Linked DNA regions of Homo sapiens: region 2 is linked to region 1. Evidence: promoter capture Hi-C in human tissues and cell types (Jung and others, 2019). All regions are on one chromosome and are shown on one strand. The core of a region is centred on a gene start or on the middle of the fragment in contact, and the rest is flanking DNA. Distances in the headings are between cores, read along the strand shown.

The links. Contacts are between HindIII fragments. The study calls those that stand out against the background at their distance.
Region 2: a contact is called between the fragment with the promoter of MAPK8IP3 here and the fragment with the promoter of SOX8 in region 1, in 1 of the 25 tissues and cell types used here (liver).

Annotation. Positions count from the first base shown.
Region 1 is chr16:980,430-985,197 of GRCh38, forward strand. SOX8 (SRY-box transcription factor 8) reads left to right here and starts at 1,341. Exons shown (of 3, transcript NM_014587.5): 1 at 1,341-1,915; 2 at 3,299-3,531; 3 at 4,272-4,768. The coding sequence starts at 1,494. It overlaps CEROX1 (cytoplasmic endogenous regulator of oxidative phosphorylation 1), which reads right to left and starts at 1,184. Exons shown (of 3, transcript NR_164343.1): 1 at 1-1,184. It also overlaps a transcript of LMF1 not described here. The HindIII fragment of the contact is 8,118 bases long and covers 1-4,768 here.
Region 2 is chr16:1,704,608-1,709,391 of GRCh38, forward strand. It overlaps MAPK8IP3 (mitogen-activated protein kinase 8 interacting protein 3), which reads left to right and starts at 1,588. Exons shown (of 32, transcript NM_001318852.2): 1 at 1,588-2,050. The coding sequence starts at 1,733. RefSeq lists silencers at 141-435, 1,342-1,681, 1,952-2,061, 2,082-2,131 and an enhancer at 919-1,783. The HindIII fragment of the contact is 16,634 bases long and covers 1-4,784 here.

The DNA of each region.
Region 1 (4,768 bases), core at 91-2,590:
GACTTTTCTAGTAACGGACCAGCTCCTTCTGCCGACCGGGCCGGGGAGACCGCGTGGCTCAGTGGCTGCAGCGGCCACCGGCCCGGGCGTGGGGGCTTTGAGGGCACCGGCGCGGTAGGTCACCCGGGTTTCGCGGGCCGCAAGCTCGGAGACGCGCGTGTCCCGCGTTGGCTGCCTGACCCGGAATGGCGCAGCCCCTTCGCCTCCAGCGCGCTGGTTGAAAGGATCCGAGCCACCCTCGGGGACGGCCGGGCCGAGGCCACCTCGCGGGGCGGCCTTGGGCGGGGACCCGGACCCGCGGTTGGACGTTCGCCTCGGGGGGGGCAATGTCCCCTCTCCGACCCCGCGGTCCCCACCAGGGCGGCACACCCCGCCCTCTCCCCGCCTCCGCAGGCGCCCAGGGCTCACAGGCTCGGAGCGGCCTCCGCCTCTGCCGGACCACCCAGGGCCGCCCCGCCGGAGGGGCCTCCCCGCCCCCGAGCCCTAGGTCACGCCCGGAAGGCCCGGGGCCCCCGCGTCCGGCCACGCCATCCGCCCGGCGGCCCCAGGGACTCAGCGCCGGGGTCAGCGCAGGCCCCGCCCAGCGCTCCCGCCCCCTCCAGCTGGCCGGCCCCCGGGACCGCGCCCCCGCCCGCGCTCTCCACGCTCGCACTCGTATGGGCAGGGCGGCCCGGGGTCCCCCAGCTCCGAGCCGCGGCCCCTTGAAGCGCGTTACCTGGACGTGCGCTGTCCGCAGACTCTGGACGAGCTGGGCCTGGGCGCTGCGCGGCGGAACCGACCCTGTCCTGGACCGCAGGCAGCAGCTGACCCCGCGCCACCGGCCTGCGGGCGAGACCTCAGGCGCGAGACGGGCTGTGTGTGTGTGTGTGTGTGTGAGAGAGAGAGAGAGAGAGAGAGAGAGAGAGAGAGAGAGAGAGAGTGTGTGTGTGTGTGTGTGTGTGTGTGTGTGTGTGTGTGTGTGTCGGGGGAGGGGCCCGAGGACCCGCTTCCTAGCTGAGCGTCAGGACGGGGGGCGGACTCTCAGGAGCCGCGCGGCGCCCGCAGAGGAGAGGAAGCGCCGGAGACCCCCCTGCTCCCACCCGGCCTCCCTGCCCCGCTTCCTTTCCCGGGGCTCCAGAGAGGGGAGCTCCAGGCGTGGGGCGCCTGGCCCACGTGGTGCGGCGCCGGGCGGGGCAGGCGGGGGCGCGGCGAGAGCCGCGGAGCTTTCTTTATGGGTGGGGGGGCGGGGGCGGCCGGGCTCCGCCTCCGGGGGATCGGGGCGCGCTCCGCCAATGGGTAGCCGGGCGCGGGGCGGGGCCGCGGGGCCGCCGCTTAAAGAAACTTGTTGCGGGTCCCGCAGCGGGACCCGAGCCTCGGCGGCGGCGGCGGCGGCGGCAGGGGCGAGGGTCGGGGCCACCGCGCGGCGACCTCGGGTCCCGGAGCGACCGCAGGGCAGCCCCGGGCGCCGGCCCCGGTGCGCGTCTCCTGTGCGCGCCCCTCCGCGCGCGGCCCCGATGCTGGACATGAGCGAGGCCCGCTCCCAGCCGCCCTGCAGCCCGTCCGGCACCGCCAGCTCCATGTCGCACGTGGAGGACTCGGACTCGGACGCGCCGCCGTCTCCCGCCGGCTCCGAGGGCCTGGGCCGCGCGGGGGTCGCGGTGGGGGGCGCCCGGGGCGACCCGGCGGAGGCGGCGGACGAGCGCTTCCCGGCCTGCATCCGCGACGCCGTGTCGCAGGTGCTCAAGGGCTACGACTGGAGTCTGGTGCCCATGCCGGTGCGCGGCGGCGGCGGCGGCGCGCTCAAAGCCAAGCCGCATGTGAAGCGGCCCATGAACGCATTCATGGTGTGGGCGCAGGCGGCGCGCCGCAAGCTGGCCGACCAGTACCCGCACCTGCACAACGCCGAGCTCAGCAAGACGCTGGGCAAGCTGTGGCGGTGAGTGCCGGCGCCCCGGGGGCGGGGTTCGGGACCTTGGCCGCCCCTGGTCTCGGACTGCGAGCGGGGGCCTGGAGGGCGCAGAGCTCGCGGAGGTGGTGGCCACACGCAGGCTCCGGGCTCTGCACCCCGGGCGGGTGTCAGGGCGGGTCCCAGTGGAAAAACATCCTCTGGCCAGCCGGGGTCCGGCGCCAGCTATGGGAGTCGGGATCCGCGGAGGGCAGCGCCTGGGGTGTGCACCCTCGTGGCGGGTGCGCTCTGGAGCCAGTTCTCCTGGCGGGGAACACCCTGCGGAGGGCCATGGCTGGCACCCCGACGTGCCCTCCAGCCGTTGCGAGTGGCCCCAGCCCCGGGAGGCACGCCCGGCACGACAGCAAGTTGCATGCGGCTCTCTGGAGGTGCTCCCTCCTTAGAAAGGGCTCAGCTCCTCTAGCTCCTGGACCACCCATGGGGAGGGAGTGCGGCAGGCGGATGGGTGGGCAGCAGGTTTGCCTGCGAGTACCCTCCCCGCAGTTTCTCCCTCTCCTGGACACCCTCGGTCCGAAGCAGGGAGGGCAGGAGTGGAGATGACGGGGTGCGCCGTGTGCACGCCTTGGCGTGGTGGGGCCGGTCAGTTTTCCAGAAATTAGGACTGCAGAGTGAAGAACTTGTTGCTCAGGACAGGCCGCCCCCACCGAGTGTCCTCTGGTTGGGTTTCAAATGGTTCTCTTGGTTTGGGGCTCTGGTTCCCGTATCCTGCTCCTCACCTGGAAGAAGGGAGCTTGGAGCTTGCGTATTTGCACCTCCTGCCTTCTGTCTGGATCTAGGGCGCAGCCACGGGGCGCTGTGGACGGCAGGCCCCTGCTCCCCCAAGTCCTGCCGCACAGGCGGTTGGAGGTGAGCCTCGGGAAGAGTCCCAAGGAGTGTGTCCTGTGGCTCAGTGAGGACGGGCGCCTGGGCCCTGCCAGGGCTTCTGGGTGTCTGGGAATGGAGGGACAGCAGCCCAGCTGCCCGCCGAAGGCCGGCACCGTTCCCGGGAAGCCTCGCTTTTGTCCACCGCCGGCTGGGTCCTGCCCGCCTCCCCCGCCTCCCTTAGAAAGCCCCAGAGGGAGGGAACAGCAGGCCCGGAATAGGGGGAAATAGAAGGAGGAAGATGGGAGGCGTGGGGCTTGTTCTTCTTTGGCTGTCGTAAGCATACCAACCTTCCCAAACAGGCGCCGGCCGGTTCTCCCAGAGGAGTGTACTGCCTGGTGCCACGGGAGGCTCCGGAGCGCACGGCAGGCGGGTTTCCCTGGTCAGAGCCTCCTGGCCCCGGCCTCTGCTGCCGGTTCCCCCTGTGGTGTGTGCCTGCGCCGAGGGCACAGTGGGCGCCCTGGCCATCCCTGCCTCTGCCCTGTGCTGCAGCTTGCTGAGCGAGAGCGAGAAGCGGCCCTTCGTGGAGGAGGCAGAGCGCCTTCGCGTGCAGCACAAGAAGGACCACCCCGACTACAAGTACCAGCCACGGCGCAGGAAGAGCGCCAAAGCCGGCCACAGCGACTCCGACTCGGGCGCGGAGCTGGGACCCCACCCTGGCGGCGGTGCCGTGTACAAGGCTGAAGCAGGGCTTGGAGATGGGCACCACCATGGCGACCACACAGGTGGGCTCCAGGCCCCCCGCATATCTGAGGGTCCCTGTATGGGAGGCAGCTGTGGGGTTTCTGGCTGAGAAGGGTGCATGATGGTGGAGGGGGGCAGGCGCCCTCGAGAGAACCGGGCCTTCCCCGGGTTCCCTGAAAAAGCTCCCAAGGCCCCGGCCGCCCCTGTTTTTGGTGCACGAGGGACCTGCTTAGCCACCTTGAGTGCTGAGGGGCTGACAGCTTTGCTTGGCAGGGACCCCGAGAGGTGGTGTTTTCAGCAAGACTCAGTCCAATGCGGGCTCCTCTTCCCACACCGAGCTGCTGCCCACACGGCACTCAGCAGCCCCAGCTTCAGGGCCAGACTGACAGGGTGGAGTCCTGCCGGGGCCTCGGTCAGGCTGGCTGACGCCCGCCAGCCTCAGAGTGCTTGGCTGGCCCGGGGAGGAACAGGGTCTGTGTGGTCCCCCAGCGCCCTGTAAACCCCAGCTCTGGCCAGGCTGGGCCTGTCGGCTTCTTCCCCCCACCTTGGTCTCTGGGAGGGGCCTCGGGTCTTCTCATAGCACAGCGCTTCATGGAATTTTCTCGGCCGAGGAGTGAGGTCTAGGTCTGACTTTGCTGGAATTTCTGGGAAATGTAAAGAAACAAAAAGCCGTTGATCCCCCTGGCAGTTAGCGCGGGCGTCCCTCCCCTTCCAGCCTGGCCGGCCCCACCCGCCCCACAGAAGGGGCATTCATCCCTGAAGCCTGCTCTCCTGTCCCCAGGGCAGACCCACGGGCCGCCCACCCCGCCCACCACCCCCAAGACGGAGCTGCAGCAGGCGGGCGCCAAGCCGGAGCTGAAGCTGGAGGGACGCCGGCCGGTGGACAGCGGGCGCCAGAACATCGACTTCAGCAACGTGGACATCTCGGAGCTCAGCAGCGAGGTCATGGGCACCATGGACGCCTTCGACGTCCACGAGTTCGACCAGTACCTGCCCCTGGGCGGCCCCGCCCCACCCGAGCCGGGCCAGGCCTATGGGGGCGCCTACTTCCACGCCGGGGCGTCCCCCGTGTGGGCCCACAAGAGTGCCCCGTCGGCCTCCGCGTCGCCCACCGAGACGGGTCCCCCACGGCCGCACATCAAGACGGAGCAGCCGAGCCCCGGCCACTACGGCGACCAGCCCCGAGGCTCGCCCGACTACGGTTCCTGCAGCGGCCAGTCCAGCGCCACCCCGGCCGCCCCCGCCGGCCCCTTCGCCGGCTCACAGGGCGACTATGGC
Region 2 (4,784 bases), core at 338-2,837, 720 kb after region 1:
GGTAAGTGGCCATTTCTATTAGCATTAAATAGTCACTGATGTGGTTTCATCAGGATTCACAATACATGTGTGGCTCCCAAATTGAGTTTCAAAGTCTTGGGTTCATGGTGTCCCCTGCCCAGCAAAATAAAGTGCAAATCTTACGGAGCAACACATTTTAAGTTCAGGCCTCAAGTACTTCCAGAGACAAAAGTCCTGGGGACACTGGCTCAGAATGGGGGAAAGGGGACCCTGGGCCAAGAGTCAACCAGGATGACATGCAGAATCAGACCTGCAAGGGCTGCAGATACTGTAGTTATGAGGCACACCCAACGCTTAAAGATAAATATGTGGTTGGAAGTATAAGAGCCTATTAAAACTGCTAGAATATAAGAAATCAAATAGGACAAAAACAGAATCATTGGCAGGGTGCAGTGGCTCACGCCTGTAATCCCAGCACTTTGGGACGCCGAGGGAGGCGGGTGGATCACTTGAGGTCAGCAGTTCAAGACCAGCCTGGCCAACATGGTGAAACCCCGTCTCTACTAAAAATACAAAAAAATGAGCCGGGCGTTAATAGCGCGTGTCTGTAGTCCCAGCTACTCAGGAGGCTGAGGCAGGAGAATCGCTTGGACCCAGGAGGCGAAGGTTGCAGTGAGCCGAGATCGCGCCATCACACTCCAGCCTGGGCGACAAGAGCGAAACACCGTCTCAAAAAAAAAAAAATCGGTGCAATTAATAACCCAGTGGATGGGTTAAACAGATTGCACGTAGCTGAAAAGTAACCGAAAATCTGGACTGGCGCGGTGGCTCACGCCTGTCATCCCAGCACTCTGGGAGGTCGAGGCGGGCGGATCACTTGAGATCAGAAATTTGAGACCAGCCTGGCCAACATGGCGAAACCCCGTCTCTACTAAAAATACAAAATTAGCTGGTCTGTAATCCCAGCTACTCCGGAGGCTGAGGGAGAAGAATCACTTGAACCCAGAAGGCGGAGCTTGCAGTGAGCCAGGATCGCGCCACCGCACTCCAGCCTGGGCGACAGAGCAAGACTCCATCTCAAAAAAAAAAAAAAAAAAGAAAATCTGAAGCAGTCAGTGCAGTAGGGAGAAGTGGGCGAAAGGAAGGAGGCCACGCTGCTGGGTTTCAGGATGAGATGGGCGTTGAGGGTGCATTCACAGAATCCCGGGAGGAGCCAGCTGAGCGGGGAAGGCATCAGGAGAGGGGAGGCACTGAGCGGGGCGCGGTGCTGTAGGGAACGGAGGCTCATCAGGGCGGCCGGGATTGAGGCGCAGGCGCTGAGCCTTCACCTAAGTCCGCCGAAGTGTGCAGAGCCTGGAGACGGGATCGAGGTCACCGGAAGCCCACGGTTGCGGGGACATGATCAAGCTACAGCGCGCTGGGGGAAGCGACCACTGCCGCCCCGCGGATCCCACCGGCCTGGCCGGGAGCTCCCTCTGCCCGGCTCACCCGCGCTTCCGGCCCGAAGCCCGGCTTCCTCTGACGTCACGGCCCCTGCGCCCCCTGGCGGCGCGGCTGCGGCGGGACGCGCGGGCACCGCCCCCTCCGGCTGGAGGGCGGGACTTCCGGTGAGTGAGTGACGGGCGCAGCCTCGGCAGCGGCGGCGGCGGAGCCCTGAGGCGACAGCAGCTGCGGGAGGCGACGGGCTGCGGCCTGCGGAACCTGAGGCAGCTGGGGAGGGCCGGGCGCGCCGGCCGGATAGCGAGCCGCGCTGGCGGCGGCGGTGGCCGCGATGATGGAGATCCAGATGGACGAGGGCGGCGGCGTGGTGGTGTACCAGGACGACTACTGCTCCGGCTCGGTGATGTCGGAGCGGGTGTCGGGCCTGGCGGGCTCCATCTACCGCGAGTTCGAGCGCCTCATCCACTGCTACGACGAGGAGGTGGTCAAGGAGCTCATGCCGCTGGTGGTGAACGTGCTGGAGAACCTAGACTCGGTGCTCAGCGAGAACCAGGAGCACGAGGTGGAGCTGGAGCTGCTGCGCGAGGACAACGAGCAGCTGCTCACCCAGTACGAGCGTGAGAAGGCGCTGCGCAGGCAGGCGGAGGAGGTGCGTGGGCCGCGGGACCCGCCCGCATCCCCGTCCCGGACCCCCAGCCAGCCCCGGGCCCCGGACCCAACACCCGTCCCGACCCCAGACCCCGCTCCGGCACCCCGGACCGCGGGACCCCTGGACCCCCAGACCCCGCCCCGAGACCCGCCTGGACCCCATATCCCCCGCCCCGGGACTTCCCCACCCCCTCTGCCCGCCGTGAGACACCTCCCTAGAGCACTCCCCCGCCTGCCCCGGGACCCCACCCCGACTCCCGGGGACCCCCTTTTCCGCCCAGGCCTGGGCCCTGGCCCCCTCCTCCGTGCCCCCAGCCCTGAATCTTCAGCCCCAAACCCGATGTGCCTGGCGTCATCCCCGGGGAGCTCAGCTTCAAAGCCAGGCCTCACTCTCCCCTCCCCACCCACCTCTGCATGACAATTGCCTTTGCTTTCGTGCGTGTGTTCAGTCAAAACCGTTTCCCGACCCCAAGTGCTACCTCTGTTGGCTGCCATTCTAAACCCATCTAGAAAAGGAATCTTTTGGTGTTCTTAGGGGGCTGCAGCCGTCTGTGGATGATGTTGGAGACCTTTCCCTTGTCCCTAATCCCGTATTTTGAAGGTCTGTGACACGGGTGAATTGGGTGGTTGATGTAAACACAGAACAAGGCCGCAGGCGGGCTGCTCCTCTGTCAGCAGAAGGAACACTCGAGTTTCTGGAGGTGATGTCTTTGCCCCCTTGGTTCCTTGCTTGGCGAGATTGTTAGCTGATGTAGCCAGGGCTGAGAAACTCCACTCTGGCTTCTGAGGAGTTAACAGTCTGAGTTTGAAGCGTTTAATTCTGTGCTAGGATGTCTCCATAACCTGGAAATCGCTTGTCTGTGAAGCAGTTACAAGAGCCGGGCCCTGTGGGGAGCACCACTTAGCTTCATTCATTCACCGTCAGATACTGAGCTCGGCCTGCCTGTGTGTGGGCCCAGAACCTCGCCCTTTGTCAGAAACAGGTTCAGGGAGGCTGGTTCCCATCCCTGCTTTGCCTCTGTGACCTTGGCCTGTCGCCTGCCTGGGGTTCGATTTTCCATCAAAGGAGTGAATTGCACTAGGCGATCTCCAAGCCCAGAAATTCTCTCATTCTAGGAGTTAGGTAATGCTGTTTGACTTATGAATAGAAGTGTCTTAGGAAATGAGCTTCAATTCCTTTTCAATTAATTCGGCTTAACACATTCTTGACTTTAATAGGAAAATAAAAGATTGTGTCAGTATTTTGGCTTTTTCTGAAACCAAGGTGATTTATGGCCTAGTTTGGTTTAAAGCGTGTTTATAAAAATCATAACAGTATGTTGTATCATTCCTCCTTTCCTGTGGTTTCTATTGCGTTTGGGCTTCGTGTCTGTCGCGAGGTGGTTATGCATTGATTGGAATGCCCCGGTTCCAGCAAAGCTGAGTTAAAGCTCTCAACCTAAGGGAACGCAAAGGTTCATGGATTTTGGAGCTCAGGGTGACTATAGGCATTTTACTGGGAAGGAAACTTGTCCTGAGAAGTGGAGGGGCTGAACCAAGGTCACCCACCCCAGAAGTGCCCAGCCAGGATGCAGAGTGAACCCGACACCGGCCTGGGCACTTGCTTCCATGTCAGGCAGCTGCAGGCACCGGAGGGCTGCTCCCCAGAAGCCTGGAGTGCCAGGGCTGCCCTCGCTCAGCTGTGGAGCTGTGGCTGCCCCCTGTGCTGGGCACCGCCCTCCACTGCTCTCCCACACTCAGTGGCCTGACCTGGATTTCAGGTGGGTTTCTTTTTTTCACCTTGTACCTGTGTGGTCAGTATAGTGGACGAGAAGGAACTGAAAGGAGAAAATCAAGATGGACAACGTTAAGGCTAGGAATTATAACCTTGCCGCTTAAAAATGAGCTGTGCACAGGATAGGCGCTGCCCAGCTCTGTGCGGTTCACATGCAAGCTGCTGTGAGTGCATCTGCCCTCCCCCAGGGCTCCTGCTGAACCAAGCTGGCGGGTGTGCGTGTGGTTTGCAAAGCTATCACCTTTAGTCTGAGACCCACCATTGCCCCAGCGCTTTAGAGAAGCTGCACCGAGAGCTTCGGGAGCCGAGCCCCGAAGCCAGCCAATGCTTGGCCAGCATGGAGGCTATGATTAAACGCTAACGGGGCGCCCTTGGAAAGACCTCAGGGCTTTACAACTAAGGAAGAGGGCTCGATGCTGTCAACATTTGGCATGCCTACTCCTCTACTGAATCAAGCAGACCTTCATTTCCAACTTTGTAGACCATTGTGCCCTGTGGGTCGGCGTCTTTTCTAGGCAGGGACTTGTGATCACATAGACGTGTGTCTGATAAGAGGGGAGCGGGACGTCACACGCTGCAGGCGTGTCTTGTTGCAGAGGAGCTCCTGGGTGAGCTGTCAGCAGAAGCTCCGTCCCCAGCCACTCTGCTCAAGAAGGCTTAGTCAGAGATGGGTAACCTGAGCCACTGCAGCTTCTGAGCAGACAGAATCCGCAGGGTTTTATAAAAACCTGAGCAGAGCAGACATCCCTGTTCCCATCTTCTTGCCGGTCATTACCACAGTGACTCCCAATGTGCTCTGATAACAGGCAGCTGAGTGTATGAGAGTGACAGGAGCTAGAGAGGGTGGGGTCTCCCGAGAGACTGACCCAAGCCGTGGAGTCTGCAGACCCCAGCCTGAGTGTCAGCCCGGCCCTCAGGAGCCACACACCCTGGGTCCATCCTCTTCCCCTCGCTGGGCTGC